5 separate regions of the Homo sapiens genome follow, and all the other regions are linked to region 2. The links are contacts of gene promoters, found by promoter capture Hi-C in human tissues and cell types (Jung and others, 2019). All regions are on one chromosome and are shown on one strand. The core of a region is centred on a gene start or on the middle of the fragment in contact, and the rest is flanking DNA. Distances in the headings are between cores, read along the strand shown. Region 1 holds the start of NTHL1 (nth like DNA glycosylase 1). Region 2 holds the start of NTN3 (netrin 3). Region 3 holds the start of CASKIN1 (CASK interacting protein 1). Region 4 holds the start of ZNF598 (zinc finger protein 598, E3 ubiquitin ligase). Region 5 overlaps SRRM2-AS1 (SRRM2 antisense RNA 1).

Region 1 (4,717 bases), core at 682-3,181, 420 kb after region 2:
GAAACCTCCGCCTCCCGGGTTCAAGCAATTCTCGTCTCAGCCCCCCGAGTAGCTGGAATTACAGGCGCCCACCACTATGACCGGCTAATTTTTGGTATTTTTAGTAGAGACGGGGTTTCGCCATGTTGGCCAGGCTGGTCTCAAACTCCTGACCTCAGGTGATCCACCCGCCTCGGCCTCCCAAAGTGCTGGGATGACAGGCGTGAGCCACCGCACCCAGCCAGGATGGACTATATTTTATTCATCAGTTGATGAACGTTTTAGTTGTTTCTAAGTAGAAAACTTTACAAGTGCAAAAATTCAGCATTTACTCATGGGCAAAACACAATGCCAGGCATGTGTGACAAAGACACAAACACACATAAAAGATAACGACCTAGCCCATGTGCGATGGCTCATGCCTGTAATCCCAGCACTTTGGGAGGCCAAAGCGGGCAGATCACCTGAGGTCAGCAGTTCAAGACCAGCCTGGCCAAGATAGTGAAACTCCATCTCTACTAAAAATACAAAAATTAAATGGGTGTGGTGGCACGTGTCTGTAGTCCCAGCTACTCAGGAGGCTGAGGCAGGAGAACCACTTGAAACTGGGAGGCAGAGGTAGCAGCGAGCAGAGATTGTGCCACTGCACTCCAGCCTAGGCAACAGAGCAAGACTCAGTCTCAAAAAAAAAATAAAATAAAGAACCTACTTCTCCCAGGAACTCACATCTTATCATGTAACACCTGGACATATCCTTACCTGTGAAGATGATGATACTCAGGCCTCATCTATAAGATGGGCTTTCTTTCATCAACATCTGAATAGTAACTCAAGTGTGCCTGAACCAGGTCACCAAGATCCTGACTTTCGAAGTCTCCTGAGGAAGGACATGTCGGCCTCCAAGTACTGGAGACAGCATTCCTGTGTAGACAGTTGCCAGCAACCCGTCTCCCACAGAACCTGGTGCAAGACCAAACCCAGCCTTCTCTGCATTTCCCTCTAGCCTAGCAAAGACACAGGTAGCTCACTCACTCTCAGTATTTCCGCGGTGATGATAAACTCCGTCTGTTTACCCTCTGCAGACCTGGGATTTGGCCTCGGTGTTCCCAGTCCCAACAGAATCTTAAACTTCTCCTTCAAGCCTGAATCTTTGCTTGTTGGTTTGGCCATGGTGGACCAGGACGCACCAGAAAACCCCTCTGTGCAAACGAAACAGGAATGGGGACATCTGAGCAACACCTCTGCCCACCTTCCCCACTGCGGACCTCCAGCCGTCAGGACCCTGGGTCTCTGGTGGGCATAACCTTTCCTCCCACACTCCCTGGGAGAACTCAACTACAGCCCAGCTGACCAGCTCGCAAACAGGCACCTAGGAAAGCCCGGGAGACACCAGGCCTGGTCTAGAGAGCTCTCTACTCAGACGCTGCCGCCCGCCCCGCCCGACTCAGTGCACGGGTTAGGACTGCCGCCGCGAAGTCCTGGGAGCCCCGACGTTTGCCGTCTCTCCTCTACCCATGTGAAGCAGGAGCTGTCACGGAGCCGCCTGCAGCAGAGACCCGTTCGCACCCGCCATGACTTAAAACTAAGGGATGCTCGGAGCTCCGGAGTCGGGTTGCAGTGGGCGCGGGTGAGGGCCCGGGACCCGGACACTGCGGGGTCCGCCTCTCTAGGCCGCTGCCCCGTGGGGACCGCCACTTGCCCCGTGGGGACCGCCACTTACCCCGCGCCGCGCCACCGCGCTCCGGGCCGCCCCGACGCGGAGAAAGGCGCACCCCCCTGGCCCCGGGACGCCGCCGGAAGCGCGACCCGCACTTCCGGTAGCGGCATTGCGCGGAGGGCCGCCTTGGGAGCTTGCTGGGAGTTGTAGTTCTGTGCCGCCCTCTGGCGGAAAGGCCGGCGATCCTTGCATCACGTGACGGGGCCGCATGGGCCGCCGGGATGTGTAGTCCGCAGGAGTCCGGCATGACCGCCTTGAGCGCGAGGATGCTGACCCGGAGCCGGAGCCTGGGACCCGGGGCTGGGCCGCGGGGGTGTAGGGAGGAGCCCGGGCCTCTCCGGAGAAGAGAGGCTGCAGCAGGTAGCGCCGCGCCGTGGCTGGAGCGTGGGAGGAGGCGGGATAGGGGCTGCAGGCTGGAGTCCCGGGCCGCCTCCTGCGGCTCCCAGCTGCGCGGGCAGGGGCTGCAAACCCGGCAGCCGCGAACGGTTCCCACGTGCGGCCCTGCGTTCCCACCTTGCGCCTTTTTCCCAAAGATTGCGGTCCGCAGGGGCTGGGTTTCGGGCGCTCCGCTCCGCTGCCCCCTTTCGCCCCAAGCAAGAAAACGCTTCCTTTCCCACCACTCTGTCCGGGACTCTCCACTCCAGGCTCTGTGGGTCCCATCCCCGCCCTCCTGCAGTGAACTTGCTGTCCTCGGAGAGGCTGGGTGCCAAGGACACACGCAGCCAGAAGCCTGCTCCCCCAGCTCGGGGGAGGGTGCCTCTGAGGGAAAACAGGAAAGGGCATGGCACTTATTATATTTATCCTGCAGCCGTTGAGGACCTGCTGGGGGCCAAGCACTGCAGTGAGCAGTGAGGGACACGGACAGGGCCTCTGCGCTAGTCCCGCTGGGACTTCTGCAGAATTGGCCAGAGCTGGATTCCCATAGGCACCCAGGGACCCCAGGGGTAGTCCAGACTATGTCAGGAGGAACTGGTGCAGCTGGGAGCAGGCAGGTGGTGATGCCAGCCAGGGTGGCAGGAGCTTTGATGCCAGGATAGAGTTTGGAGTTTATTATGACAGTAAACGGAAGTCAATTAGGAGGTTTTGTTGTTTGTTTTGAGATCGGGTCTTGCTCTGTCACCCAGGCTGTAGTGGAGTGTTGTGATCTCAGCTCACTGCAACCTCCGCCCCCCAGGTTCAAGCAGTTCTCCTGCCTCAGCCTCCCAAGTAGCTGAGACTATAGGCCCCTGCCACCACACCCGGCTAACTTTTGTATTTTTAGTAGAGATGGGGTTTTGCCATATTGGCCAGGCTGGTCTTGAACTCCTGACCTCAAGTGATCCACCCACCTCGGCCTCCCAAAGTGCTGGGATTACAGGCTTGATCCACCGCGCCCGGCCGGCCAGGATTTTTTAAAAGGGAGTGACACAACCTGATGTGGGTGTTAGCAGACTGTCTCTGGTGCAGTATAGAAGATGTATTGGGGGCACCTTGGTACAGGCTGTTGCTAGAGTCCTCATGAGCTAACATGGACCTTGTCAGGGTCGCTGGCATAAGGAGGGCCCACATACCCCAGACTGCAGAGGGCAGAGCACCCCAAGTGTATTAGATGATGGACAGTTGTGGCATGAACGAGTGAGGGGTGAGCTAGCAGGCGGGATGGCACCCCTACCCTACCTTCACCTGTGGCCCCACCAGAGGGACTGCGTGGTGCTTTTTGCAGAAGCGAGGAAAAGCCACAGCCCCGTGAAGCGTCCGCGGAAAGCACAGAGACTGCGTGTGGCCTATGAGGGCTCGGACAGTGAGAAAGGTGAGGGGGCTGAGCCCCTCAAGGTGCCAGTCTGGGAGCCCCAGGACTGGCAGCAACAGCTGGTCAACATCCGTGCCATGAGGAACAAAAAGGATGCACCTGTGGACCATCTGGGGACTGAGCACTGCTATGACTCCAGTGCCCCCCCAAAGGTAGGCAGGGGCCCCATCTGCCCAGATGACCCCCCATCTTAGCAAGGTCCTTGTTTTCTTTCTACCCGGTGGCTTTTGGCTGGCACCCTCCCCTGCAGACAGCACCTTGGGAGGATGGACACCCGGTGCCCCAGAGCATCGCCTGCATCACTGTAGCCACTCAGCAGGTCAGGACACCAGTGGTTTAGGGCCTCGTGCTCGAACTTCTGCCCAGTGCAGGCGTGACCTGGGCTTTGTGTGATATCAGGAAGGAAGAGTTCCTTTTGCTTCACGGTCCCAGGGCCTGAAACCCTTAGACCAAGCTGAGTTCTAATCCCTATTCTGCTACCAGGTGGCTTGGATACAGGCCTCTCTGAGCCTCAGTTTGCTTGTCTGTAAAATGGGTAGTATGGGCCAGGCATGGTGGTTCAGGCCTGTAATCCCAGCACTTCGGGAGGCCAAGGCGGGTGGATCACCTGAGGTCAGGAGTTCGAGACCAGCCTGGCCAATGTGGCGAAACCACGTCTCTACTAAAAATACAAAAATTAGCCAGGTGTGGTGGCAGGCACCTGTAACCCCAGCTACTTAGGAGGGCGAGGCAGGAAAATCGCTTGAACCCCGGAGGCGGAGGTTGCAGTGAGCCAAGATGGCACCACCACACTTCAGCCTGGGTGAAAGAGTGATACTGCATCTCAAAAAAAAAAATTTGTTTTAAAGGGTAGTGTGATGATTCACGAAGCAATCATAATAGTAGTGGCCAATGGCTGTTCAGTAGTGATGGGCCAGATACGATCGTGTTGGGTTTTTTTTTGAGACCAAGTCTTGCTCTTGTTGCCCAGGCTGGAGTGCAGTGGTGAAATCTTAGCTCACTGCAACCTTCGCCTCCGAGGTTCAAATTATTCTCCTGCCTCGGCCTCCCGAGTAGCTGGGATTACAGGCATGCACCACCGCACCCAGCTAATGTTTGTATTTTTAGTAGAGACGGGGTTTCACCACGTTGATCAGGCTGGTCTCAAACTCCTGACTTCAGGTGATCCGCCTGCCTTGGCCTCCCGAAGTGCTGGGATGACGGGTGCGAGCCACCACGCCCGGCCACATACG
Region 2 (5,213 bases), core at 277-2,776:
GCAGTGGCGGCCGGCGGTGTTGTGCCGGCAGTTGAGACAGACACCCCCGCTGCGGCGGCCGGACAGTCGGTACAGCTCCATGTTGAAGCGGCAGCGGCGGGCATGGCCGTTGCAGGAGCAAGCTGCAGGGAGGGATGGGTCAGGGGCAGGCTGGTTGTGTCCAAGGTCCCCAGGCCACCCTCCAAGGCCTCACCGAGGCAGGCGTGGGATTCCCGGGCAGTGGCCCGCTGCCATGGCCTGTCGCAGTAGAAGGGCTTGCAGCGGCCGCAGTCAGGGCCCTCGGTGCCATGCCGACAGTCGCAGATCAGGTGGCCCTGTGTGTCCAGCAGGCACCGTGAGGCATGTCCATTGCACTTGCAGCGCCCGCCCACCTGGAGGTCGGTGGCTGCGTAGGAGTAAGGGACGACGGCCTCCATGTCCCTGGGGTCACCTGCCGTGCTAGGCCTTGTGAGCACTACACGGACGTCGGTGGCGGTCACCCAGTCTTGGAGCACTGGGCTGCTGTCCAGGTCCAGGCCTGGGGGGCTGCTGTCCTGCATGCTGAAGGCCAGAAGGCCGCTGCCATCAGGCTGGGCCAGGGGTGCGGGGAAGCACAGGGCCTCAGGCCCTGGGCCAGCTGGGCCATTGGCAGGGGCAGGCAGACGGCCATAGTCCAGGTCACAGTGGGAGGAGAAGAAGCCCAGCGGGGCCCAGCTGCGGCCATGGTCCTGAGACTTGAGCAGGGCCACGGAGGCTGGGGGAGCTGAGCAGAAGCGCAGGCTCACGAAGACCAGCTCAAAAGCCTTGCCCAGGGGCACCGTGAGAGTCACGTTGAGGGGCGCCCGAGGCAGGGACTCCGAGCGCCAGCACAGAGGGCTGGCCGTGCCCCCTGGGGAAGTAAGGAGGGCGGGGGAGTGTGCCCGTCGCGGGTCGGAGGCGTCGCAGGCCCGAGTGGCCGGCCGCCCGCACGTGCTGGAAGCCAGCACCTCGCGGCCCAGGGCGGCGTTCACCAGTCCTGGCACGCAGCCGCGGGGCGCACCCCCCTCATCGTGGCAGGGGTCGGCGGGCGCCGGCGGCCCAGGACTCAGGGCGGCGAAGAGCGTGCCTGCCGTCAGCAGCAGCCCCCAGGGCCAGCCAGGCATGGCCGGAGCCGCTGCGGGTCAGCCAGTGGCCGGGCCCCAAGACGCTGCCCTTGGGGAAAAGAAGCCCTCTCCGCGGCTCTGCCCACCAGGCCCGCAATGCCGAGGAACAGGGCCCCCGGGCGGCCCCAGCCCGGCCCAGAGGTGGGAGCAGCGGCGGGCACGCCCCGGGCCCAGCACAGCAGCGGGGATGTTGGCGCGTCCTCCCGCTGGGCCTAGAGCGATGACAGGCGTCGCCCCCGCTCCCGGTGCCTCCGCCCGCGGAGGCCCCACCCGCCGCTCGCACTCACCCACCGAGGGCCGGGCGGAGCAGGTCTCCCGGCCTCCCGGGAAGGGCCGTGGGCGGGCGGGGCCTGCGGTGCACGGGCCGCCGCCTCCTCCCGGCTGCAGCGAGGGCGGACGAGCTGTGCCAGGAGGGGGTGGGGGGCGCAGCAGGCGCAAGCCCGGGCCCAGCCGGGGGCGGGGCTGCTCGGGTCGGGAAGGAGGCAGGGGAGGGGAGGGGGCCTCATCGCAGAGCTGGAATCAGAAGCAGATTCAGACGCGGGCTGGGCCAGCGGGGAAGGGGGCTGGGAGGCCCGGGAGCCAGGGGAGGGGCCGGGGAGCCAGGAATGCGCTGGCGGGAGGGGTCTGGAGGGGGGCAGCTCAGCCTTCGCAGCCCGTGGGGGACCACCCAGCAGGGTCCTGGGCCCACAGCCAGGTCTTTACTGCTCCTGGGGCTGTGCCACGTGCTGGACGGGGGTCTGGGTCGCCTCCTCCCTGAAGACCATCAGGCAGGCAAGGCCCCGGGTCTGACAGCAGAGGCCCTGGATGTTCCCCAGGTAGGGAAGCCAAGTAACCACCAGTTGAAGGGTCATCCCCAAAGCAGCATCTACTCGAGTAGAAGGAACCCAGGATTCGGTCAGGTCTAATTTTGAATCCAACTGCCCCATTTCTGGCTGCATGTCTTGGGCTCCTGTTTCCTCACCTGCCAGATGCCTGTTACTCAGCACGCGCTCTGAAGCTGTTGGATTTGATGAGTCTCAAGTGGCATCAGGCCCAAGTCGAGAGCTGCACAAATTGGAGTGTCTCCTGCCCATGTTGAGGAAGGGGGGCACCCCCATGGGCCTGAGCTGGGCTAAGACATGAGGCCAGCATCCCCTGCACCAGGCCAGATTCTGATCCCAAAGCTCCCTGGGTCTGCAAGTTTCTAGGGGCACCTCTGCCACGGGCCCAGCTGGCAGGGAGGACATGGAAGCTGGAGGGTGGGATGGGGTGGCTTCTTGGGGTTCGGGGGCTTGGTTAGCTGTTGAGGACCCCTCTGCAGGGGCAGGGAGTAGGGTTTAATCATGGGAAGGGGCTGGTCGCAACCCGGAGCCCACTGCCCTACGTCACAGCACGTTTGGGCAGGGAAACTGAGGCAGAAGCCCAGCTGGGTGGCCTGGGGACTAGCTGGGGATGGGGTAGCTGTGCCTGGGAGCGACACCACCAAAGAGGGTCCAGGAACAGCTCTGGTCAGAGAAACCTCCTCCCCTCCGACTTTCAGGTCCTTGACAGAGGAGGCCAAGCATCCCAGGGAGGGGCAGGGAACAAGTTCCGTGCAGGGCCAGCATCGAGGCCTGAATGCCCCGTTTCAGATGGGAGGCCAGGCCTGCAGCTGGTGGAGGAGGCCACGTGGGTGCTACCCTGGACACGACCAGAGATGAGCAAGGACCAGGAGGAAGAGAATGGAGAGGTAGACGCATCCCGCTGTTGGGGAGAGGAGGGGCAGGAGGACACGGAAGCCTCCTAGGGGAAACTGAAGGACCAGAGGAGGGAGCAGGAGGGCCTGACCATGGAGGGGAGGAACGGGAAGACAGGGTGATAGGGCACCTGGCTTGGCTCCTGGAGCAACTGACACTGGCTGGTGGGCACCTTCTCCTTGCCACACATCTGCATGTGACAGCCACAGATGCACAGGGATGGGGGCACCGGAGGACTGAACAGAGAGGGCTAAGGGGCTCTCTCTCTGCCACAGGGCCCCTGCCCCTCAGCTTCCTGATAAAGAGAATGGGAATTGTGTCCTTTACAAGTTGAGGGACCTCAACCTGACGGGGCTCACGCTCCGCTCTGTGGGTCAAGCTTAGAACCTGAAACGTCCCAACCACCCTCTTCAAGGTCCTTCTGGCTCCCAACCCCCACCCCCCGACACCCCACCCTAAGGGTGGGAGGAACCCTGGGGGGACTATGGGGGCTGAGATCATCATTCTGGGACAGTGGAGAGAAAAGCCCAGGCCTGACAGAGGGGTCCCACTGGCCAGAGACAAGCCTCTGGGGAAACCCAAGCTGTCTCTGGACGTCAGGGCCACTGCCAGACTGGCTGCCAGCCAGGCTGCAAGAGGGACAGTGGCCAGCAGCCTCTTCCACCCTCATCAGAGGGGCTGGCTTTGTCTCCAGCTCAGCTTCCCTGTGAGCCAGGACTGGGGTCTGCAGAACGTCTGGTGGCTTCTGGGGTGGGGGAAAGTAGGTGCCTGGGGCTCAGCCCTGCCCCAATTGTTCATCTGGGTCAGCAGCAGCGGCGGGAGGCCGTGGGCCCAGAGGGCCATTGTACCGCCAGCTCCCCAGGGAGGAGGCCGCTGGTCACAGGGCCTCTCCCCAGGAACAGTCCTCTGCACACGCTACTCTGCCCCCACCCCCAGCCCTCACAGATGGTGTTTGGGAGTTAGGAAGGGCCTCCCCACAGCGCCCAAGCGGGACTTATTGCTCCCCAGGGACCCAGCCACCTGTCCCAGCCCCTGGCTGGGGCCTCTCCCACCTCCCACCTCTCCACTGGCCCTGCCCCCTCCTGGCACCTTCTGCAACAAAGAAGCTCCGCCTCCCCTCCCCCCACCTGCAACTCAGGCCGCAGTGCTTCGCCTCCCCCTCCCCACCCCACCCCTCACCCCTAGAGTGGCAGCTCCAGCTTTGGGGCACAGGCTGGGGAGAGGGCATAGATGGGCTGGACAGTCCTAGGCGGCAGGGAGCTGAGAGTCTTTCCTGTAAGATGCCCGTTGATCCAATAATTCCCTGCCCAGCCCAGAACCTGCTGTCTCCCCCCAGACGCCTGCAAGCCACCACATGTTCACCTATTGCACATTTATCGAGCGCCTATTATGCCTCGGGGGGTTTCCAACCGAGCTCCGAAGGCAGACAGCCCAGGAGCAGACACAGCGCCGGCTCCCAACGGCGGGTGGTGTGGCCGAGCCCGCGTCGCGCTGCCCTGCACCCAGCACCCTCGCGCCGGGTCGATCCCCCAGCCTCGCAGACCGCTGCCCAGCCAGGCCGCTCTGCGGTCGCGCCAGCTCTGCGCGCCAAGTCAAAAGCTGAAATGCGACGTTGGACGGAGGAGGGAAGAGAGGGAAAGCAGAGAGGGAGGGAGGGAAACGGCCGGTGGCCTTCTCTGCCCAAAGGGTTCCAGAAGAAACGATTTGGGGATGGGGTGTGGGGGGCGGCCTCTGCGACCACGCTTGGCACTGCGCCCGCCCGGCCGGGGCGAGGTTGGAGGGAGGGGCGGCCGGCTCGCGGTGACCTCGATGGGAGGGGGCCTCGCCCGCGGCTCAGGGCGCCCCCGGCTCCCTGCGCCCGGCCCTTCGCCTCCGCCGAGCGCGCCAGCACAGGAAGGCGGCGGTCAGAAGCCCCAGGCCCGCACTGAGCGCGGCCAGCGACGAGCCCTGGGCCAGGTCCAGGCGGGGTCCCCGCAGCGAGAAGGTGATGGCCGTGGCAGCCGCACCAGCCAGCACGGCCACGGCACCGAACGGCAGAATGCAGCGAGGCCACGAGCCCCCAGCGCCGCCGGTGGCCAAGAGCAGGGCGCGCAGGGCCCCGGGGGGTTCCGGGTGCGCCAGACCCGGCCCGGGGGGCGAGGCGGGCGCCGCTGGGGGAGGCTCGAGCGCGCTCATGCCGCCAACGCGGTGGCCGCGCTCGGTGGGTGGTGTGGACGCCCGCGCAGTCCCAGTGGCGTTCCAGGCTCGCCACGTCAGAGCCCATTGGCTCCAGAGGCGGTGACGCCAGCCGGGAGCCCGAGGAGTCAGCTGCTACCTCTGGGTTTTGGCGGGGAATCGGGGTGGGCGGGCGTTAGTCCGAGGAGGCGGCTTGTCTTTC
Region 3 (5,310 bases), core at 866-3,365, 270 kb after region 2:
TGGGCTTCTGTTTGTGTGTTAAGCACAGGTCAGGGTGGTTTGCCTTAACATGTCCAAAACATAAAAGTAATAGTAATGCCAGCAGCTATCTTATTTTTATTTTTAGTTCTTCCTATGTGCTCTTCACACTGCAAGGTAGCGTAGATACAAAGATGCACAAAACACAGTTGCTGCACAGGCAGAGAGGCCCAAGAATATCACAATATCTACAGCAGCCATTTTTTTGAGCACTTACTAAGTCCTGCCGTGAAATGCTTTGTGGATAGTATCACAATTTATCCTCCAGTAACCTAAGGGGAGGTAGCATGCATATCCTCATTTTACAGAGGGGCACAGACACTTAGGCAGTGGGCTGGGTGTGGTAGCTCACGTCTGCAATCCCAGCACTTTGGGAGGTTGAGGTGGGAGGACTGCTTGAGGCCAGGAGTTCGAGACCAGTCTAGGTAACATACTGAGACCTCATCTCTATTAAAAATCAAAAAAAATTAGCCGGGCGCTACTCAGGAGGCTGAGGCGGGAGGACTGCTTGAGCCTGGGATGTTGAGGCTGCAGTGAGCTATGATGGCGTCACTGCACCCCAGCCTGGACGACAGAGCGAGACCCTGTCTCAGAAAAAAGAATGACAAAGTGACCAGCTCATGGTCACAAACCACTAAGAGGGGGAATAGGACACATCCAGAGGTGCGGGTGCAAAGCCCAGACTTACAACCTCAAGACTCTGGGACCCCAGGTGAGCCCCTTGGCTTCTCTGAGCCTCAGTTTCTTCATCTGTAAAATGGGGACAGTGAGTCCAACCTCATCTAGGAGGTGACCAGCACAGTGCCTGACCCAGCGGGTACTCAACTGGTCATTGGAAAGGGCAAGAGGAAAGGCCCTAGCATTTGGGGACCCCTCCCAGGAGTGCTGGAAGACCAAGGGCTGCTACCTGAACCTAACAGGAGACCCCACGGAGGGAACGGGAACGGCCAGCTGCCCACAGGATGCCGGGACCCCGGTGCCTGTCACCTTCCCTGTCCCTGCTGTCTGACCTCCTCTGTCCCCCTGGACCTGCTCAATGGTCTGGGGCCACACAGAGTGGGGTGCCAGGCCATGCCTCATAGAATGGGTGCGACCCTCCCCAAATTCTCCAAACGGCCTTGCCCGCTTGGGTGATGAGGGAAACGGAGCCTGAGTCGGGACTCAGACCCCCACTGATCTGCCTCTAGAATGCTGCAGGCCTGACGGGAGAGGGCCTGAGGCGCAGGGTGGCCCAAGCCTTCAGCCAGGAGCTCAGAGGGTCACAAGTCGGGGCCTCCAGCACCCAGGAAGCAGGACTCGCCTGCCTGGGCTGCAGGCTGGAGAGTGGGCAGACGTGGGCCGGGGGTCGGTTGGTGCCGGCGGGAGGTTCCAGCCCCTGTGGATGGAGATGGAGGCGACCCCCAGTCGGTGCGGGGAGTGGGGAGTTGAGCTCCCTCAGTGGGGGTGGTGGGGGCTACCTTGGGGTCAGGCTTCGGACTGAGGCTGGGGGAAGCTGTGGCGCCCGCATTATTTGCGGAGAGGAGCAGGAGGATGCTTGGGGGTTGGGGGTGCGGGTTCCCTGACACCGAATTCATTATTGGGAGATTCCTCTTCACAATCCCTCGACACCTCCCACGGGAACCCTGGGCCAGGAACGCCTGACAGCCTGGCGGGCCGGCTCCAGGGGCACTGGCGCCCGGGTCTCTCGGCGCCCGGTCCCCGCCCGCCCGCTGCCTCGGAACCGTCCCCCGCGGGTCCCGCAGCCTCTGGAAGCCTCTCTGGGCTCAGCCCCGCGCCGCCGCCGCGTCGGGGCTCCCAGTGCACCCCCGGCGGCCGCGTCCCCAGCCCGGCTAGCAGCCCCAGGCCGCCCGCGTCCGCAGAGGCCTGGCCTGAGCGCGCTGCGCGCACGTGGGGAGGGGGCGTCCCGGGGCGGGCGCGGGGAGGGCGGAGCCACGGGCCCGGGCGCGCGGCCGGCGCGGGCTGACGGAGGTCGGCGGCCCGGGAGCGGACCCCGGCGTCCGGGAGGCGGCGCCAGGTGCCGCGCCCCCGCCCCGCGCCCGCCGCGCGCCCCCGCCCCCGGGCCGCCCCCCGCCCGTGACGCGCTCCCCGCCCCCTCCGCGCCGGGAGCCCGAGCCCAAGCCGGAGCCCGAGGAGGGCGAAGGGGCGGCGGGCGGCGAGGAGGCGGCGGGGGAGGCGGCGGGGGAGGCGGCCGGTGCCGCGGGGCCGCCGCCGCCTCTGAGCCGCGCCGAGCTCACGAGCGCAGCCGCGTCGCTGCGGCCCCGGCCGCGCCATGGGGAAGGAGCAGGAGCTGGTGCAGGCGGTGAAGGCGGAGGACGTAGGGACCGCGCAGAGGCTGCTGCAGAGGCCGCGGCCCGGGAAGGCCAGTGAGTGCCGGGGGCGCGGGGCGCGGGTGGGAGCCCCGGGGGCCCCTCCCCGGCGCGGAGCCCCCCACCCGGCGCCGGGCGGGGAGGGGACGTTGTCGGGTCCCCGGGGGCGGGGCGGGGCCAGCAGCGCCCAGACCCTTGGTCCGTGCCCTCCACCCGCTGCCCCCAGCACTGGAGATGGGGCGGCCCCGAGAGCCGGCCGCCACCGTGAGCCCCGCAGCGGGCACCTGGCGGCACCCGCCTCCCGGGCCGCGGGCGTTCGCATCCCTCTCTCTCTACCTCTGTCCCCCTCCCTTCCCAGGCTGCGGGCTGACAGCTGGAGGTCTCTGCTGGGGCCTTCAAAGGGCGAGGCGGATGCCCCCCCCACCCACCACACGCACCGGGAAGACAGGGAGGGGGCCCCTGCGGCGAGGGGCGACCCGGGAGGTGACAGTCCCTAGCAGACCCCCTCCCGCCCCACGTTTAATAACACGCTTTGCAGGGAAGGTGGGGGCAGGACCACGCTGGGGGTGTGGCTGCCCTGGCATGGCCGGTGGGGTGCCATTTACTGATGGGAGAGCAGAGGCCCAAGGTCGCCCAGCCCAGGGCAGGCTGGACTCCAGGCAGGGCCGGCCTGGGCGCAAGGGCTTGGGGCCCTGCTCAGGCAGGCTCCAGCAGAGCCGGGTCTCCAGCTTCCCTGCTGGGAAAGGAGGCCATGAGGGAGTGGGGGACCACCACTGGCCATCCCCAGCTTGCCCTATGGCCGGCCCCAGGAAAGGGCTGGGAGCTTGGAGCCCTGGTCCCAGCACTCATCCTGGCTCAGCGCGTAGCCTCCCTGGGGGCCGCCGGAGATGGATGGATGGGCGTGTGGACCAGCCGCGTGTGCGGCTGCGCACGTATAGCCGTGTCAGTGTGTCAGGGCACCTGTGCGGGCACGGACAGGGCTCTGCAGGTCGGCACGTGGGGTCTGGGCGTCCTCCCTCCTCCCTCCACCCCCACAGACTGTAAGCCAGAGAGTCCCCCTCCCCTTCCTCCAGGGGGATGCCGAGAACTGGGACTGGCTTCTGGGAGATTGTTGGGGGCACCTAGGAGTCCCAGGAGGACCCCCTCCCCCGTACTTCACCAGCAGCCCATGACTGGCTAGCTCCTGTCCACTCTGTGCAGTAAGAGAGAGGGGGCACCGGTGCCTTGCAGGCTGGCCCCGAGCTGATTTCAGGTCCGGGGGCTCAGAAAGGGAGAGCTTGTGGGCAGAGGCAGCCTCAGCTGAGCCTGGAGAGCAGGTGTAGGGATTGAGGGAAGGCAAGGTAAAGGTTTCCACCTAGTGGCCGCATGACCTTGGACACAGACAACTCCAGCTCAGTGGACCTCAGTCTCCTCGTCTGTAGGATGGGATGTCAGCCTCACGGTGGGGTCCTAAGACCAGTGAGCCTGGGCACTTGCAGCCCAGGCATTCAGTAAGTGCTCAGTAAATGCCAGCAATGACCGCAGTCTTGGACGGCCCAGGGCCAGGGGCTGGGGAAGTGGGGGCTTCAGCTCTGGGGAGGTTCCTCCTCCCTTCTATTGTGGCCATTCTGGGGAGGTGTGGGGGCTTCCACTCTCACCTGGGTCTCTGCCTGTCTTGCCTGGCCTCTGGGACAGGAGAGACACCTGCCCTGGCCCCGGCTCCTGCTCTCTGACTCACAGGGGCGGGTGTAATAAATCAGAGGAGAAATCCCTCCATGAATTAGCTCCGTCGTCATGGCAACGCTGGCCTGCTTTGGAGTAAGATGTATTTTGATTCAGTAAAGTACAGCTGAGTTTGGGCCACGAGGTGGGGGGTGTCCAGCAGTATCCTCCAGGGCCCCGTGAGCCCAGGGCTGTCCCCATGAGCTTTGCTTCCATGGTCCCCTCTGGTTGCCCAGTCCCTTCCCTCCAGCCCCTGCTCCAGAGTCACCCCAGGCTCAGCCAGCCCCCGACTCGCCCTGCCCTGAAGGGAGCCTCCCGTGCCCGCACGCACACACTTAGCAGCTGTCCTTGAGGGGAAGAGGAGCCTGTTCTGGGGGAGATGCCGGTGCAGGGGCTGGCCTCCTGCTGGCCAGGAGGGACCCACTCTTCCCTCTGACCCGGACCCTATCCATGGAGGCCCCCTGTCCATGGAGGCAGGCCCAAGAATGCCGTGGAGGACACCCCTGAGCACCGAGGGCCAGCTCCCCATCCCCCTCTCACCTTCTAATAGCCCACTAGTAGCTCCCTTCTAGCCTGGGATATGGACTGGACCCCAGAGGTGGGGACAGGCTCAGGATAGCAGTGAGAGGGCTGGTCGGGGGTAAGGCCTTTACTGTCATAGAGTCACAGGGCTTAGGGACCTCGTGGAGAGGGAGGGGGGCTCCTGGACTTTCATCCTGGCCCCGGCCCCCTCCAGCCATGCTCTGCTCCTGCTTCATCCAGAGAACCCGTTTCCAGGTGAAAACAGCCCCCAGCCCCAGGCCCTTCTCAGTTCTGGGACCTTCCTGGGTACCCACTGTCCCCCCACAGGAATGGGGGTTAGTGTGTCCCAAGACCTCAAGTTGCTGCCATCCAATTTCAGCCAGTTTCCCCCTTGAGGAGACCATAAGTGGGGAGAGGGACGAGATGGCTTTAGTAAGGCACCCCTCCTCACATGGGGGTGGTCCCCTTCCTGAGGGAGACACCCTCCCCCACTGGCAGATGTTACTTTCTGGGCTTTGACCTCCAGCCTCTCCGAGATTTCAGCCCCTGAAGGTGTGGCTGGGTGAGAAGGTGGTTTCCACACTGGCTGCCTCAGCTGTGGGAGGGAGGACAGGGCCTGGCTTGGACAGTCCTGGGGACATGCTGAGGGCTGTCCACCCTGGAGCTGGGAAGAGTGGGGGTCAGCGTTCTGTGGGGAGAACCTCCTGAGTGTGGTCCTGGCGGGGATGCACGGGACAGTGACACCTGCGCTCCCTTTAGCTAA
Region 4 (5,857 bases), core at 2,144-4,643, 460 kb after region 2:
GCTGAGACTACACGTGCGCACCACCACACCAGGGAATATAAAATTAAGGTTGCTAATTAGCTGGCTTTATTTTATTTTATTTGAAACAGAGTCTTGCTCTGTCACCCAGGCTGGAGTACAGTGGCATGATCTCCGCTCACTACAACCTCTGCCTCCCGGGTTCAAAGCGATTCTCCTGCCTTAGGTTCCCAAGTAGCTGGAATTATAGGCGCCCACCACCATGCCCGGCTAATTTTTGTATTTTTAGTAGAGATGGGGTTTCACCATGTTGGCCAGGCTGGCCTCGAACTCTTGACCTCCAGTGATCTGCCTGCCTCAGCCTCCCAAAGTGCTGAGATTACAGGCCTGAGCCACCACATCAGGCCAGCTGGCTTTAATAGGAGATTAGCGGCTGGGCGTGGTGGCTCACGCCTGTAATCCCAGCACTTTGGGAGGCCAATGCAGGCGGATCACCTGAGGTCAGAAGTTCAAGACCAGCCTGACCAACATGGAGAAACCCCGTCTCCACTAAAAATACAAAATTAGCCGGGCGTGGTGGCGCATGCCTGTAATCCCAGCTACTGAGGAGGCTGAGGCAGGAGAATTGCTCGAACCGGGAGGCGGAGTTTGCAGTGAGCCGAGATTGTGCCATTGCACTCCAGCCTGGACAACAAGAGCGAAACTCCACCTAAAAAAAAAAAAGCTGGGCGGGGTGGCTCACGCCTGTAATCCCAGCACTTTGGGAGGCCGAGGCGGGTGGATCATGAGGGCAGGAGATGGAGACCATCCTGGCTAACACGGTGAAACCCTGTCTCTACTAAAAATACAAAAAGAAATTAGCCGGGTGTTGTGGCGGGTGCCTGTAGTCCCAGCTACTCGGGAGGCTGAGGCAGGAGAATTGCTTGAACCTGGGAAGTGGAGGTTGCAGTGAGCCAAGACTGTGCCACTGCACTTCAGCCTGGGCGACAGAGACTCCATCTCAAAGAAAAAAAAAAGATTGGACCACTGGCCTCCCCCAGAGTCAACTCTGAAAGACAGAAAGCAGCCATGAGCCAAGGAGTTCGGGCAGCCTCTAACAGCTGGAAAAGGCAAGGAAGCAGATTCTCCCCTGGAGCCTCCAAATAGGAATGCAGTGATACTGACACCCTGATTTTAGCTCAGTGTGACCCACGTTAGAGTCTGGACTCCAGAACTAAAGATAATACATTTGTGTGTTTTAAGCCAAGTTTGTGGCCTTTTTTTTTTTTTTTTTTTTTGAGATGGAGTCTCACTCTGTTGCCCATGCTGGAATGCAGTGGCGCAATCTTGGCTCACTGCAAGCTCCACCTCCCGGGTTCACACCATTCTCCTACCTCAGCCTCCGGAGTAGGTGGGACTACAGGCGCCCGCCACCACACCAGGCTAATTTCTTTTTGTATTTTTAGTAGACATGGGGTTTCACCGCGTTAGTCATGATGGTCTTGATCTCCTGACCTCGTGATCCACCTGCCTCAGCCTCACAAAGTGCCAATTTCAAGCTGGGATTACAGGTGTGAGCCACCGCGCCCAGCCAAGATGTTGAACTTCTTACATCCTTACAATAACTTTTCCCAGTTTTCTTTTTTTTTTTTTGAGATGGAGTCTCACTCTGTGGCCCAGGTTGGAGTGCAGGGGCGCAATCTCTGCTCATTGAAACCTCTGCCTCCTGGGATCAAGCGTTTCTCGTGCCTCAGCCTCCCGAGAAGCTGTGACTACAGGCGCATGTCACCACGCCCCGTTAATTTTTGTGTGTTTTGGCCAGGCACAGTGGCTCATGCCTGTAATCCCAGCACTTTGGGAGGCCAAGGCAGGTGGATCAAGAGGTCAGGAGATCGAGACCATCCTGGCGAACATGGTGAAATCCTGTCTCTACTAAAAATAAAAAAAAAAAATTAGCAGGGCGTGGTGGCGGGTGCCTGTAGTCCCAGCTACTCAGGAGGCTGAGGCAGGAGAATGGCGTGAACCCGGGAGGCGGAGCTTGCAGTGAGCCGAGATCACGCCACTGCACTCTAGTCGTGTGTGTTTTTTTTTTTTTTTTTGAGATGGAGTCTCGCTCTGTTGCCAAGGCTGGAGTGCAGTGGCGTGATTGTCGTGATCTCGGCTCACTGCAACCTCTGCCTCACGGTTTCAAGAGATTCTACTGCCTCAGGCTGCCGAGTAGCTGGGACTACAGGCACATGTCACCACGCCCGGCTAATTTTTGTATTTTTAGTAGAGATGGGGTTTCACCATTTTGGTCAGGCTTGTCTCCAATTCCTGACCTCAGGTGATCCCAACCTCCCAAAGTGCTGGGATTACAGGCGTGAGCCACCACGCCCGGCCTAAAAATTTTTTTTGTGGAGATGGAGCCTGACTGTGTAGGCCAGGCTGGTCTCAAATTCCCAGGCTCCAGCAATCCGGGCCACCCAGCCTCCCAAACTGCTGGGATTACAGGCTTGAGCCACTGTGCCTGACAGCTTTTTTCAAGTGGCAAAATTGGGGTTTCAAGCCCATTTGTGTCTGTTTCTAAAGTCCAAGTTCACTGGGCATGGATCACTTGAGCCCAGGAGGTTGAGGCCTCAGTGTGCTGTGATCGTACCACTGTGTTACAGCAAGAGCAAGACCCGGTCTCAAATAAAGTAAGTAAAGTTCAGGCTCATTGATACAATTTACTGCCTCTTTTCCAGTAGGGTTTAGATCTGGACCTGCCTTCTGGATGGCAGAGGGAGGGAGGTCCTGAGTGTGCCTGGCCCTCAAGGGTAGGGAGGAGGCCCTGTTACTGCAGCATCCATCCAAACACGTCCTGTGCTGGGCCCAGCGTAAAGAGGACAGGTTCCGTTCGTGCCTTCCAGAGGCCCCTTCTGGGCAGGCCTGGCGAGACTGCCCTGGGCTGCGAGATGGACGTCACCACGTGCTGCCTTTCACGTTGTCTTTCATGTAGGGATTTAAACAGGGCATTAGGGAAGTGGAGGCGGGACCACGCTTGTGTGTGTTCCAAATACCAGAGACCGGTTTCCTAATAAGGTGGCCAGATTTAGCAAATACAAATACGGCAGGTCCACTTAAATGTCAATTTCAGATAAGGAGCAGCATTTTAGTATGAGCCTAGCCCATCAATATTTGGGCTATACTTACACTAAGACATGACCCCTTGTTCATCTGAGATGCAAACCAGTTGTGCCGTGTTTCATCTGACAACGCCAGTTCGTGGAGCCCGGCGAGTGTTGACGTGACACGCGTGGCCCAGAGGAGCCCGGGGCTGGCCGCGTGGCCGCGCGGACCTTCGAGCGGTCGGCTCATGGTAGAGCGGCCTCTATCAGGGCCACCGCTCTAGCCGGCGCCGCGCTGAGGCGGAAGTCGCGACGCGCACTTGCGCCGGGCGGGCCCGTTGCTGGGTGGGGCGGTGACGTTTGCCCGGAAGGGGCGGGCCCGCCGGGAGCCAGGCCGCTCGGCGCCACGACCGGCCGAGAGGGGGGCCGGATCCCGGACCATGGCGGCGGCCGGGGGGCGCCGAGGGGCGGCGCGCGGACATGGAGGCGGAGGCGGCGGCAGCTCCTGAGCGGGGAGGCGGGAGCTGCGTGCTGTGCTGCGGAGACCTGGAGGCCACGGCGCTGGGGCCGCTGCGACCACCCGGTGTGCTACCGCTGCTCTACCAAGATGCGGGTGCTCTGCGAGCAGCGCTACTGCGCCGTGTGCCGCGAGGAGCTGCGCCAGGTGCGGGGCGCCGGGGGCGCGGCCCGGGGGCAGCGGGGCTCCCGGCGACCGGATGGGGACTTTGCCTCACTGAGGTCCGGCCGTGGGCCCGGCGGCGCCGGCTTCCGAGAGAGGCCTGGTGGGGCCACCCAGGGCGGGGTCCCGGCCGTGCGGCTGACGGCGGGGCGTTGGGGCTTGGAGGCCGGAGGCGGCCGAGCGGGTTGCAGGAGGGGGCAAGCCCTGTGGGGACAGCCTGGGGACTTCCCCCGTGTCCCGGGGGTTCCTGCCGGGCCTCAGGAAGGGTCCTGATCAGATGGAGAACTCGGTGACCTGCTCGTCTTCAGGAGTTTATTTTCCAGGGTCCTCCATTCGAGGAAACAAGGCAAGGGGGACTCTGCGGAGGCCATCCGTCCTGGAAGCAGGGCGTCAAACTCTGGGCATTCTCAGCCCAGCTGTGTTTCTGGGCCCCCATTGGATGACCCTGAGCAAACTCCTTCCGAGACTGACGTTTTCCTCTGTGGAGTGGAGGTGACACTAGCCTCGGAAGGAGACCTGCCCGTCGGAGGGGAAGGCCCCCTCGCGCTTCTTGGCGGGAAGGGAGAAAAGTGTTAGGAAGTTGTCCTCCTCCTCGCCGCCGCCCCCCGCCTTTGGCGCTCATCTCCGCAGTGAATGGGAGACGTTTTTGACTGTACAGACTTGGAAGCCGTGGAGGGGTCAGAGGGTACCATGCAGCGTTCCTCCACCCTCACTGCACTGCCAGCTGCTGGCTGTGGGCACCTGGCTGGAGCCCGTTGGTTTGCTGAGCTTAGAGATTTGTTTGCTTCCAGCATTGTGAAATTCCCCCGGTTTGTTCATAGAAGGCTTCGGCTGGTGACATCTGCCAGGAATCTAACTTTCTTCTCCCCAGAAGTGATGCAGAGCAGTATTGAGGTGTAGGTTCTTTCTTTTTTTCCTTTTCTTTCTTTAAGTAGACGTTTACATCAAAGGAGTTGAAGAGATGCTGCAATTCTCTGAGCAATTTGTGGGCTTATAGTCTGTGCCCTTTTTGGAAAAAGACATTTGGAGATTCTATCAGTCTGTCATGTGACAGGAGGAGGCCGACCCAGACCCCGGGGAGATCTGGGGTGCAGGAACAGTCACAGAGGACCTTGGCCCGTGGCTTCCTCAGGGCGCTTCCTGGCTTTGCCAGGGCCTGCCTTGCCAGCCAGTCCTGCATAGCATGACCTCACTCTCCAACAGCTAGGTTTCCCAGCACACCTGTAGCTTCCTTCCGGAAAGAAGACGCTAAGGAGTTCTTGGCACGTGAGGTCCCGACCCAGGCTGCAGGTCTGATGCAAGACATGAGTGAACATCTGCGTATGCTTACTGTGGCAGCCTCTGCCCGCTCTCATTCCTTGTAGGCCCCACGCCCTCCAGGAGCTCTGTGGCTGGGGGCTGCGGACATGAGCTGTCAGCCGGGGTGTGGTTTGGCACTGGGTGCCCCCAGCCGGCTTCCTCTAGGGCCTACCCCGCCTTACTGGGCTGAAGGAGGGGCTCCTGGAAAGTTTGCTGTTTGCTGGTCTCCTCTCCTTTGCATTCGTTCTATTTTCTTCCCATCTTGAGCTTGCCGCCTCACTCTAGTCTCCTTTTTCCTTACTGAGTTCAGCACCATCCCCTGAATATATTCTGTGTCCCATGCGTGCTCAGGAATTCCCACTGCAACCCTCAACTCCTGAACCCTGGCGTTGCCTTGGCCTCCCTTATGGGACTAAGGTTTTGCGAAAATTGTGAGGAAAGTGTCCAGGATGCCGTGTGGAATCGGCTGGCTCCATGTGCTTGTTAGTTCCACACACCTGGACCCAGGCCTTCCCTGTGGAGGCTGCAGCTGCTGCTCAGGCCAGGAGCCAGATGGGCCTGACCCCTGGCAGGTGCTCAGGGTGGAAGCCGAGGCAGGCTCCCCTCCGTGGGAGGTGGGGGCGCTGGTCTTGGCCATGGCTGACAGAGGTCCTGGGGTGGTGGAGCCCCACGTTCTGGGCCTCTTTCCTGGCTGCGTCTTTCTCAAGGGCCGGTTCCTGCTGTTTGCATCTTGCTCTCCAGCTTGCTCTGGTCCCTGGTGTTACTGCAGGAGTCCTGATGAGGCTGCAAGCCCCCCAGGGCAGCCCACCTGCACCTTACAGGCAGGCAGTGGGAGGGGGCGCAGAGGGCCAGC
Region 5 (5,344 bases), core at 850-3,349, 270 kb before region 2:
CCCCCCTTACCTGTCCCACCCCAGTGGGTCAGCCTGGGGTTGGTTTCTCCCATGCCTTGTGTATCTTTGGACAAACCCCCCTGTGGCTGTCTGCCTTCTTCATGGCACAGGCCAAGCTGTGTCAGGAGCATGCTGCGCTGCCCTGGCCCGGAGGGACATCTCTGTCACAGCATAAATGCATCTGTGACCTGGTCAATGGGGTCACTCTGCCCTCTGCAGCCAGGTACTAATTGTTCCCTGCCTGTAGTGCCCAGATGCCTGTTCAACAAAACTTTGCCGCCAGAGCGTGTTGCCTTTTTTTTTTTTTTTGAGATTGAGTCTCACCCTGTTGCCCAGGCTGGAGTGCAGTGGCGTGATCTTGGCTCACTGCAACCTCTGCTTCCCGGGTTCAAGCAATTCTCATGCCTCAGCCTCCTGAGTAGCTGGGATTACAGCCACATGCTACCACACCCGGCTAATTTTTGTATTTTTAATAGAGACGGGGTCTCACTATACTGGCCAGGCTGGTCTCAAACTCCTGACCTCAAGTGATCCACCTGCCTCGGCCTCCCAAAATGCTAGGATTACAGACATGAGCCACCATGCCTGGCCCAGGGTGTGTTGCTTTTTGCCTCTCTCCCCAAGAAGTTTGCGTTTCCCTGTTATGAGACTGAGGATCCTCTGTACATGAGAGGTCATTTTAATTTCCCTTCCTGTGAACTGTGTGTGCAGACCCCACGTGAGGTTCCTGTGGTTGCCGCAGCCAATTCGCACAAACCAAGTGGCTATAAACTCCAGTATCGGACCTGACGGTTCTGCGGCTAGAAGTCCAACAGGGGTCTCACCGGCTGGAACGCATGTGCCCCAGGACTGTGTTGCTGCCTGGAGGCTCTCAATGAGAAATCCATCTCCTTGCCTTCAGCTTCAAATGCTGCCTGAGACCCTTATCTCATAGCTGCCTCCATCCCCAAAGCCAGTAGTGGCGGACAAGGCTTTCCCCTGTTGCCTCTCCATGTTCTGAGGCTCCTGCCTGACCTTGCACATTTCAAGACCCTTGTGATCACACTGGGCCCCAGATCCTCAGGACACTCTCTCCATCTGAAAACCAGCAGTGGCATCCTCCCTTCTACCTCGATTCCCCTTCATCATGGGGTAGTGGTGTTCACAAAGGAATCACAGGTCCCTTCACTCTGTTTCTTTGGGGTCTTTGGCCTTCCTCTTCTCTTTTTCCAAGACGCCTGCAAATATCCAGGAAACTGGGTCTGTTTCTCATGTGACCTGCCAAATGTTTCTTTCCAGTTGACAGCATCCGTTTACACTTTACCAACGATGTTTGTTGTTTTTGTTGCAGAAGATTTCAGTTTGTAAGTAGTGAGAGCAATGATCTTGGCTTTGCATGGTGCTCAGGAAGCCTTCCCCGCTCCCAAACCAGAAAGGAATCCATCCAGATTTTCCTCCACTGTCTGGATGGCCGCTCTGTGGATGCTTCCATCTGTATCCATTGCCGGCACCTGGTGAGGTATGAGGAATGGGGCCCGGCTTTCCAAACACTCTCCAGATGCCCCACCCTCTGGATGGCTTCTGGCTGCCCATGGGGACACCGTGGACCTTAATGGTGGAGGAGCCAGGGTGAGGTGACTTGGGATGAAGTCCCATGACAGGGTCACAGGGTCGTACAGGAGGGAGCAGATTTCAGACTAGCAGGGTGGGAGCCCTGTGGGGGTCCTCCGAGGAGCAGATCCTGGTCCAGACACCCACAGAGGGCTGGGGTGGGGGTATCCTGGCCAAGGGGGTGTGGCCAGCAGCACTTTCCCTGCTCTGTGCACCCTGGGCCTCCATTCTGCGAAGGCCTGGGGATGTGCCGGTGGCAGAACCACGCGCCTCAGGAGAAGGCCCGCCGTCCTGTCGGGCATTGCCACATCCTTGCCTGGAGAAGCAGAGCCTCCCCCAGCGTCCAGCTGGCTGGCAAGTTTTCGAGGACGCTTTACACTTTTCCTAAATAAGCTGCACACTTACAGTGAAATCATCTCCTCCCTCCTAACACAGCCACCCCATACCCTAGTATTGGCTGCAGCACAGCTCTAGAGTGAGGGATGATCTCCAACACAGACAACGCAAAGCCTCCCTTCCACTCCCACGAGAAAGGCCTCTGTGGACCCCTCAGGCTCCATCCCCGGGCTGGTATCCCAGGCTCAGCAGGAGCAGTGCTGGGGGACTCTACGGGACCTCGTACCCCAGAGCCTAGAACCCCCCGTGCGGTGTGCCTGGCCCTCACTGTGAGGACTACGCCGGCCGCTTCTGCTCTGAGAGCCTTCATGTGTCCCCCTGGCTCCTTCCACCAGCCCAGGGGTAGAGGGTGGGATGCCAAGGCCTCTGGGAGACAGAACTCAGAGGGGCAGAGTCCCTGCCCAGAGGCCACCAGCAGGTCCCTGCAAAGGGCAGAGTGGGCAGTATCTGGTGTGGAGCCTGTACTCAGTGGGATGGGGCCATCGTGAGGGTCCAGGCCAGCCTGTCTGAGACCTCTGCTCACTGCTCCAGTCTGTCCAGGCCCTGGGTCTCCTGGCCCCCACTCCAGTGGCATCTTTGTGAGGATTAGATTATGGTGCCCTCCCCCAACCCCAGGTGTCCCAGCCCTCTACCAAGGCCCATGACCCAGCCCTTTAGAGTCTGGTTTGGACATGGCACCTGCTAAGCCCAGGCCAGCAGCCCCATGGGATGGACTCCCCACTGCCGGTGTCTGCCTCCTGGGTCTGAGGAATCTTTTTTTTTTTTTTTTTTTTTTTGAGGCAGCGTCTCACTGTGTTGCCCAGGCAGGACTGCAGTGGTGCGATCTCAGCTCACTGCAACCTCCACCTCCCGGGTTCAAGCAATTCTCCTGCCTCAGCTTCCTGAGTAGCTGGAACTACAGGTGCGCCACCAACCCAGCTAATTTTTCTTTTTCTTTTTCTTTTTTTTTTTTTTTTTTTGAGATGGAGTCTCACTCTGTTTCCAGGCTGGAGTGCAGTGGTGCAATCTCAGCTCACTGCACCCTCAGCCTCCCAAGTAGCTGGGACTACAGGCACATACCACCACACCCAGCTAATTTTTGTATTTTTAGTGGAGATGGGGGTTTCACCATGTTGGCCAGGATGGTTTCGATCTCCTGACCTCGTGATCTGCCCACCTCGGCCTCCCAAAGTGCTGGGATTACAGGTGTGAGCCACTGCACCCAGCCCTAATTTTTGTGTTTTTATTAGAGTTGGGGTTTCACCATGTTGGCCAGGCATGTCTGAGAATTCTACAGCTTCATTTTGTGCCTAGGGCCAGGACAGTGGAGGTTGTGGGCCACACAGCATTCCCAGGTAGCTGAAGCTTCTCTGTTGATGGAACAGCCCCAGGCACGTGGCTTGGCTTGTGGTGTGAGGGGTGGCCATTGGGTCCATTGCTGTGGTGTCACTGTTTGCTTCTCCGCACCAAGAGACTCCACCTGGGACCCGCCTGCTAGGGGCTAGCGTCAGGGTTAGGTTAGGGAGGAGGTGGCTTCATCTGAGCTCCAGGACATTGGCTGGAGCTTCCTTTGCTTTTCTGTCACGGTGTGGTCCCCAGTCCTTGGGACAAACTCACCTGAGTCCCTGAGGTTTCCCCCTCCTGCTGCCCCTGGCCTGAGCTCTGAGAAGCCTGACCCCAACCCTCCCAGAGCTTCCCTCGAGGGGCCCTTCGTAGGCTGCCCTGTGTTCACTACCCTCCCAGGTCCAAGTCTCACCTCCTCCAGAAGGCCTCCCAGGACTGCTGGCCCCAGACACAGAACTCCCAAGGGAAGGCTCTTCCACTAAAAGTCCAGCTGCAGCGATAATGATGAGTTTGGAGAGGGCTGCAGACCCTGAGGCAGGGGTTGGTGCAGGGGCTGGACCTGAAACTGGGTTCACACAACAAGCTCGGACTCCTCTTAACACTCCTGATTGGTGACATTATGGGGTCTTGGATGCCTCCTCCTCTCTGTCCCTCGTACTGCCCCTGCCACCTGGGACTCCACCAAGTTCCTTCTCCACCAGCCATGAGGAGAGCCTGCCCAGGGGCCAGCACTCTCTCCCTGAGCCTTAGAACCAGGAGGATTCTCACTGCTTCTATGTCACAGTAGGTAAAAAACACATAAAATAAAATGAAATATCATGATCACCTGAGAAGAAAGTTCAGAGTAGGCCCGTATCACGTGTTTCCAGAGAATCCACAGCTTCCCTATGAAGCCATTGCTGGCATAGGGAAGGGTGGGGCCAGGAAACAGCCGCTATCCAGCCCCTCCAGGTTGACTCAAGTCAGAGTGTGTGGGGGCCAGTCATGGAACAGAGGGAGCCTCCTGCCCAGGGCAAGCGTGGGGAGACCACCAGGGGCCCCAGACAGGTGAGCCGCTCCAGCAGGGACAGCACAGGTGGTGCATGGTCGGGGCTGGACATCGGGGTTAGTCGGCAAGGATGAGGAGTCTCTGGGGATGGAGGCTGAGGCTTGGGGTTCTCAGGCAAGGGCAGGCCTAGGTGCAGCAGAGAATTGTTTGGAGGGAGGAAATCAAGCTTTCCTTCTAGAAAGGGTGACAGGGACCAAAGGGAGAGGGCAGGGACAGCCCCTGGAAAGGGCAGGTGAGGAAGGTGAGGCTGGAGGGGACCCAAGAAGGGATCCTGGGGAGGTAGTGGCCAAGAGCAGGGTGAGGGCCAGGCCGCACCTTTCGCTGTACCCAGCTCTCCCTGGGGTGGCCCTGGCCCTGCTCTGCTGTCCCCTGCAGGACAGGTGCCTCAGGCTTGTCCCAGCTTGTCCTACAGCAGGTCCTCAGCACCCACAGGTCCTGCCTTGGGCTCTGCAGAAGCAGGGAGTGGTGAGGTCAGGACCCTGGGCCACAGAAGAAATGGTCTGGGGGACAAGGACGGGGGTTGGGGGACTGACAGCTGTTTTCTGAAGGCCCGGGGAGTGGAGGAGAGGGGTGAGGGGCCAAGGCTTGGGGCTCAGTATGGGGGCAGCTGCAGGGGGTGAGGGGGCCAGTGGGGCCAGTGAAGAGGGCCTAGGGTCTGGTATCTGCAGCAGGCACTCACAGAGGACAGACTGTTTGCAAGGTAGGTCAGGTGACAGGGAGCCAGGGGGGCTGAGGAGGCTCAGGGCCTGACTCCAGGGAGAGCAGTTGCCATCCCCCAGGTCCAGAGGGGCCCTGGGAGGAGTCCAGGCAGGGCTGAAGCTGGAAGAAGTAAGAGGGGCTGGCACTCAAGGACTGCAGCCACTGGCCAGGTGGGGCCAGGTCGGACCGGCTGCCTTCCCTGGTCTCAGCCCCAGCCTTCTGTGGCTGCCTCCCCCATCGGAGCCATCAGAGAGCAGGATGTGGGAGGGGCAGGTGAAGGACAGCCTC

The links. Contacts are between HindIII fragments. The study calls those that stand out against the background at their distance.
Region 1: a contact is called between the fragment with the promoter of NTHL1 here and the fragment with the promoter of NTN3 in region 2, in 1 of the 25 tissues and cell types used here (dorsolateral prefrontal cortex).
Region 3: a contact is called between the fragment with the promoter of CASKIN1 here and the fragment with the promoter of NTN3 in region 2, in 1 of the 25 tissues and cell types used here (dorsolateral prefrontal cortex).
Region 4: the fragment with the promoter of ZNF598 here is called in contact with the fragment with the promoter of NTN3 in region 2 in 1 of the 25 tissues and cell types used here (dorsolateral prefrontal cortex).
Region 5: a fragment that was not itself captured here is called in contact with the fragment with the promoter of NTN3 in region 2 in 1 of the 25 tissues and cell types used here (dorsolateral prefrontal cortex).

What each region holds. Positions count from the first base shown.
Region 1 is chr16:2,045,048-2,049,764 of GRCh38, reverse strand. NTHL1 (nth like DNA glycosylase 1) reads left to right here and starts at 1,931. Exons shown (of 6, transcript NM_002528.7): 1 at 1,931-2,056; 2 at 3,399-3,637. The coding sequence starts at 1,942. It overlaps TSC2 (TSC complex subunit 2), which reads right to left and starts at 1,780. Exons shown (of 42, transcript NM_000548.5): 1 at 1,700-1,780; 2 at 1,012-1,178. The coding sequence starts at 1,149. RefSeq lists a silencer at 1,517-1,746 and enhancers at 1,837-1,926, 2,377-2,436, 2,028-2,527. The HindIII fragment of the contact is 27,107 bases long and covers 1-4,717 here.
Region 2 is chr16:2,467,610-2,472,822 of GRCh38, reverse strand. It overlaps NTN3 (netrin 3), which reads right to left and starts at 1,526. Exons shown (of 6, transcript NM_006181.3): 1 at 194-1,526; 2 at 1-122. The coding sequence starts at 1,121. TEDC2-AS1 (TEDC2 antisense RNA 1) reads left to right here and starts at 4,610. Exons shown (of 1, transcript NR_135198.1): 1 at 4,610-5,213. RefSeq lists silencers at 1,249-1,388, 4,652-4,701, 4,712-5,051, 5,112-5,161 and enhancers at 3,322-3,401, 3,562-3,701, 3,661-4,204. The HindIII fragment of the contact is 12,116 bases long and covers 1-5,213 here.
Region 3 is chr16:2,193,410-2,198,719 of GRCh38, reverse strand. It overlaps CASKIN1 (CASK interacting protein 1), which reads left to right and starts at 2,115. Exons shown (of 20, transcript NM_020764.4): 1 at 2,115-2,381. The coding sequence starts at 2,288. The HindIII fragment of the contact is 36,898 bases long and covers 1-5,310 here.
Region 4 is chr16:2,007,357-2,013,213 of GRCh38, reverse strand. It overlaps ZNF598 (zinc finger protein 598, E3 ubiquitin ligase), which reads left to right and starts at 3,393. Exons shown (of 14, transcript NM_178167.5): 1 at 3,393-3,476; 2 at 3,478-3,589; 3 at 3,591-3,690. The coding sequence starts at 3,467. It overlaps LOC124903626 (a long non-coding RNA gene), which reads right to left and starts at 3,329. Exons shown (of 2, transcript XR_007064941.1): 1 at 3,112-3,329; 2 at 2,626-2,906. It also overlaps the pseudogene RN7SL219P. RefSeq lists silencers at 989-1,184, 3,275-3,494, 3,585-4,014, 4,025-4,094 and enhancers at 3,035-3,194, 2,719-3,667, 5,567-5,857. The HindIII fragment of the contact is 21,988 bases long and covers 1-5,857 here.
Region 5 is chr16:2,739,706-2,745,049 of GRCh38, reverse strand. SRRM2-AS1 (SRRM2 antisense RNA 1) reads left to right here. Exons shown (of 6, transcript NR_027275.1): 3 at 1,331-1,498. Among named protein-coding and RNA genes, the nearest start is that of SRRM2-AS1, 10 kb to the left of the region's middle. The HindIII fragment of the contact is 3,657 bases long and covers 271-3,927 here.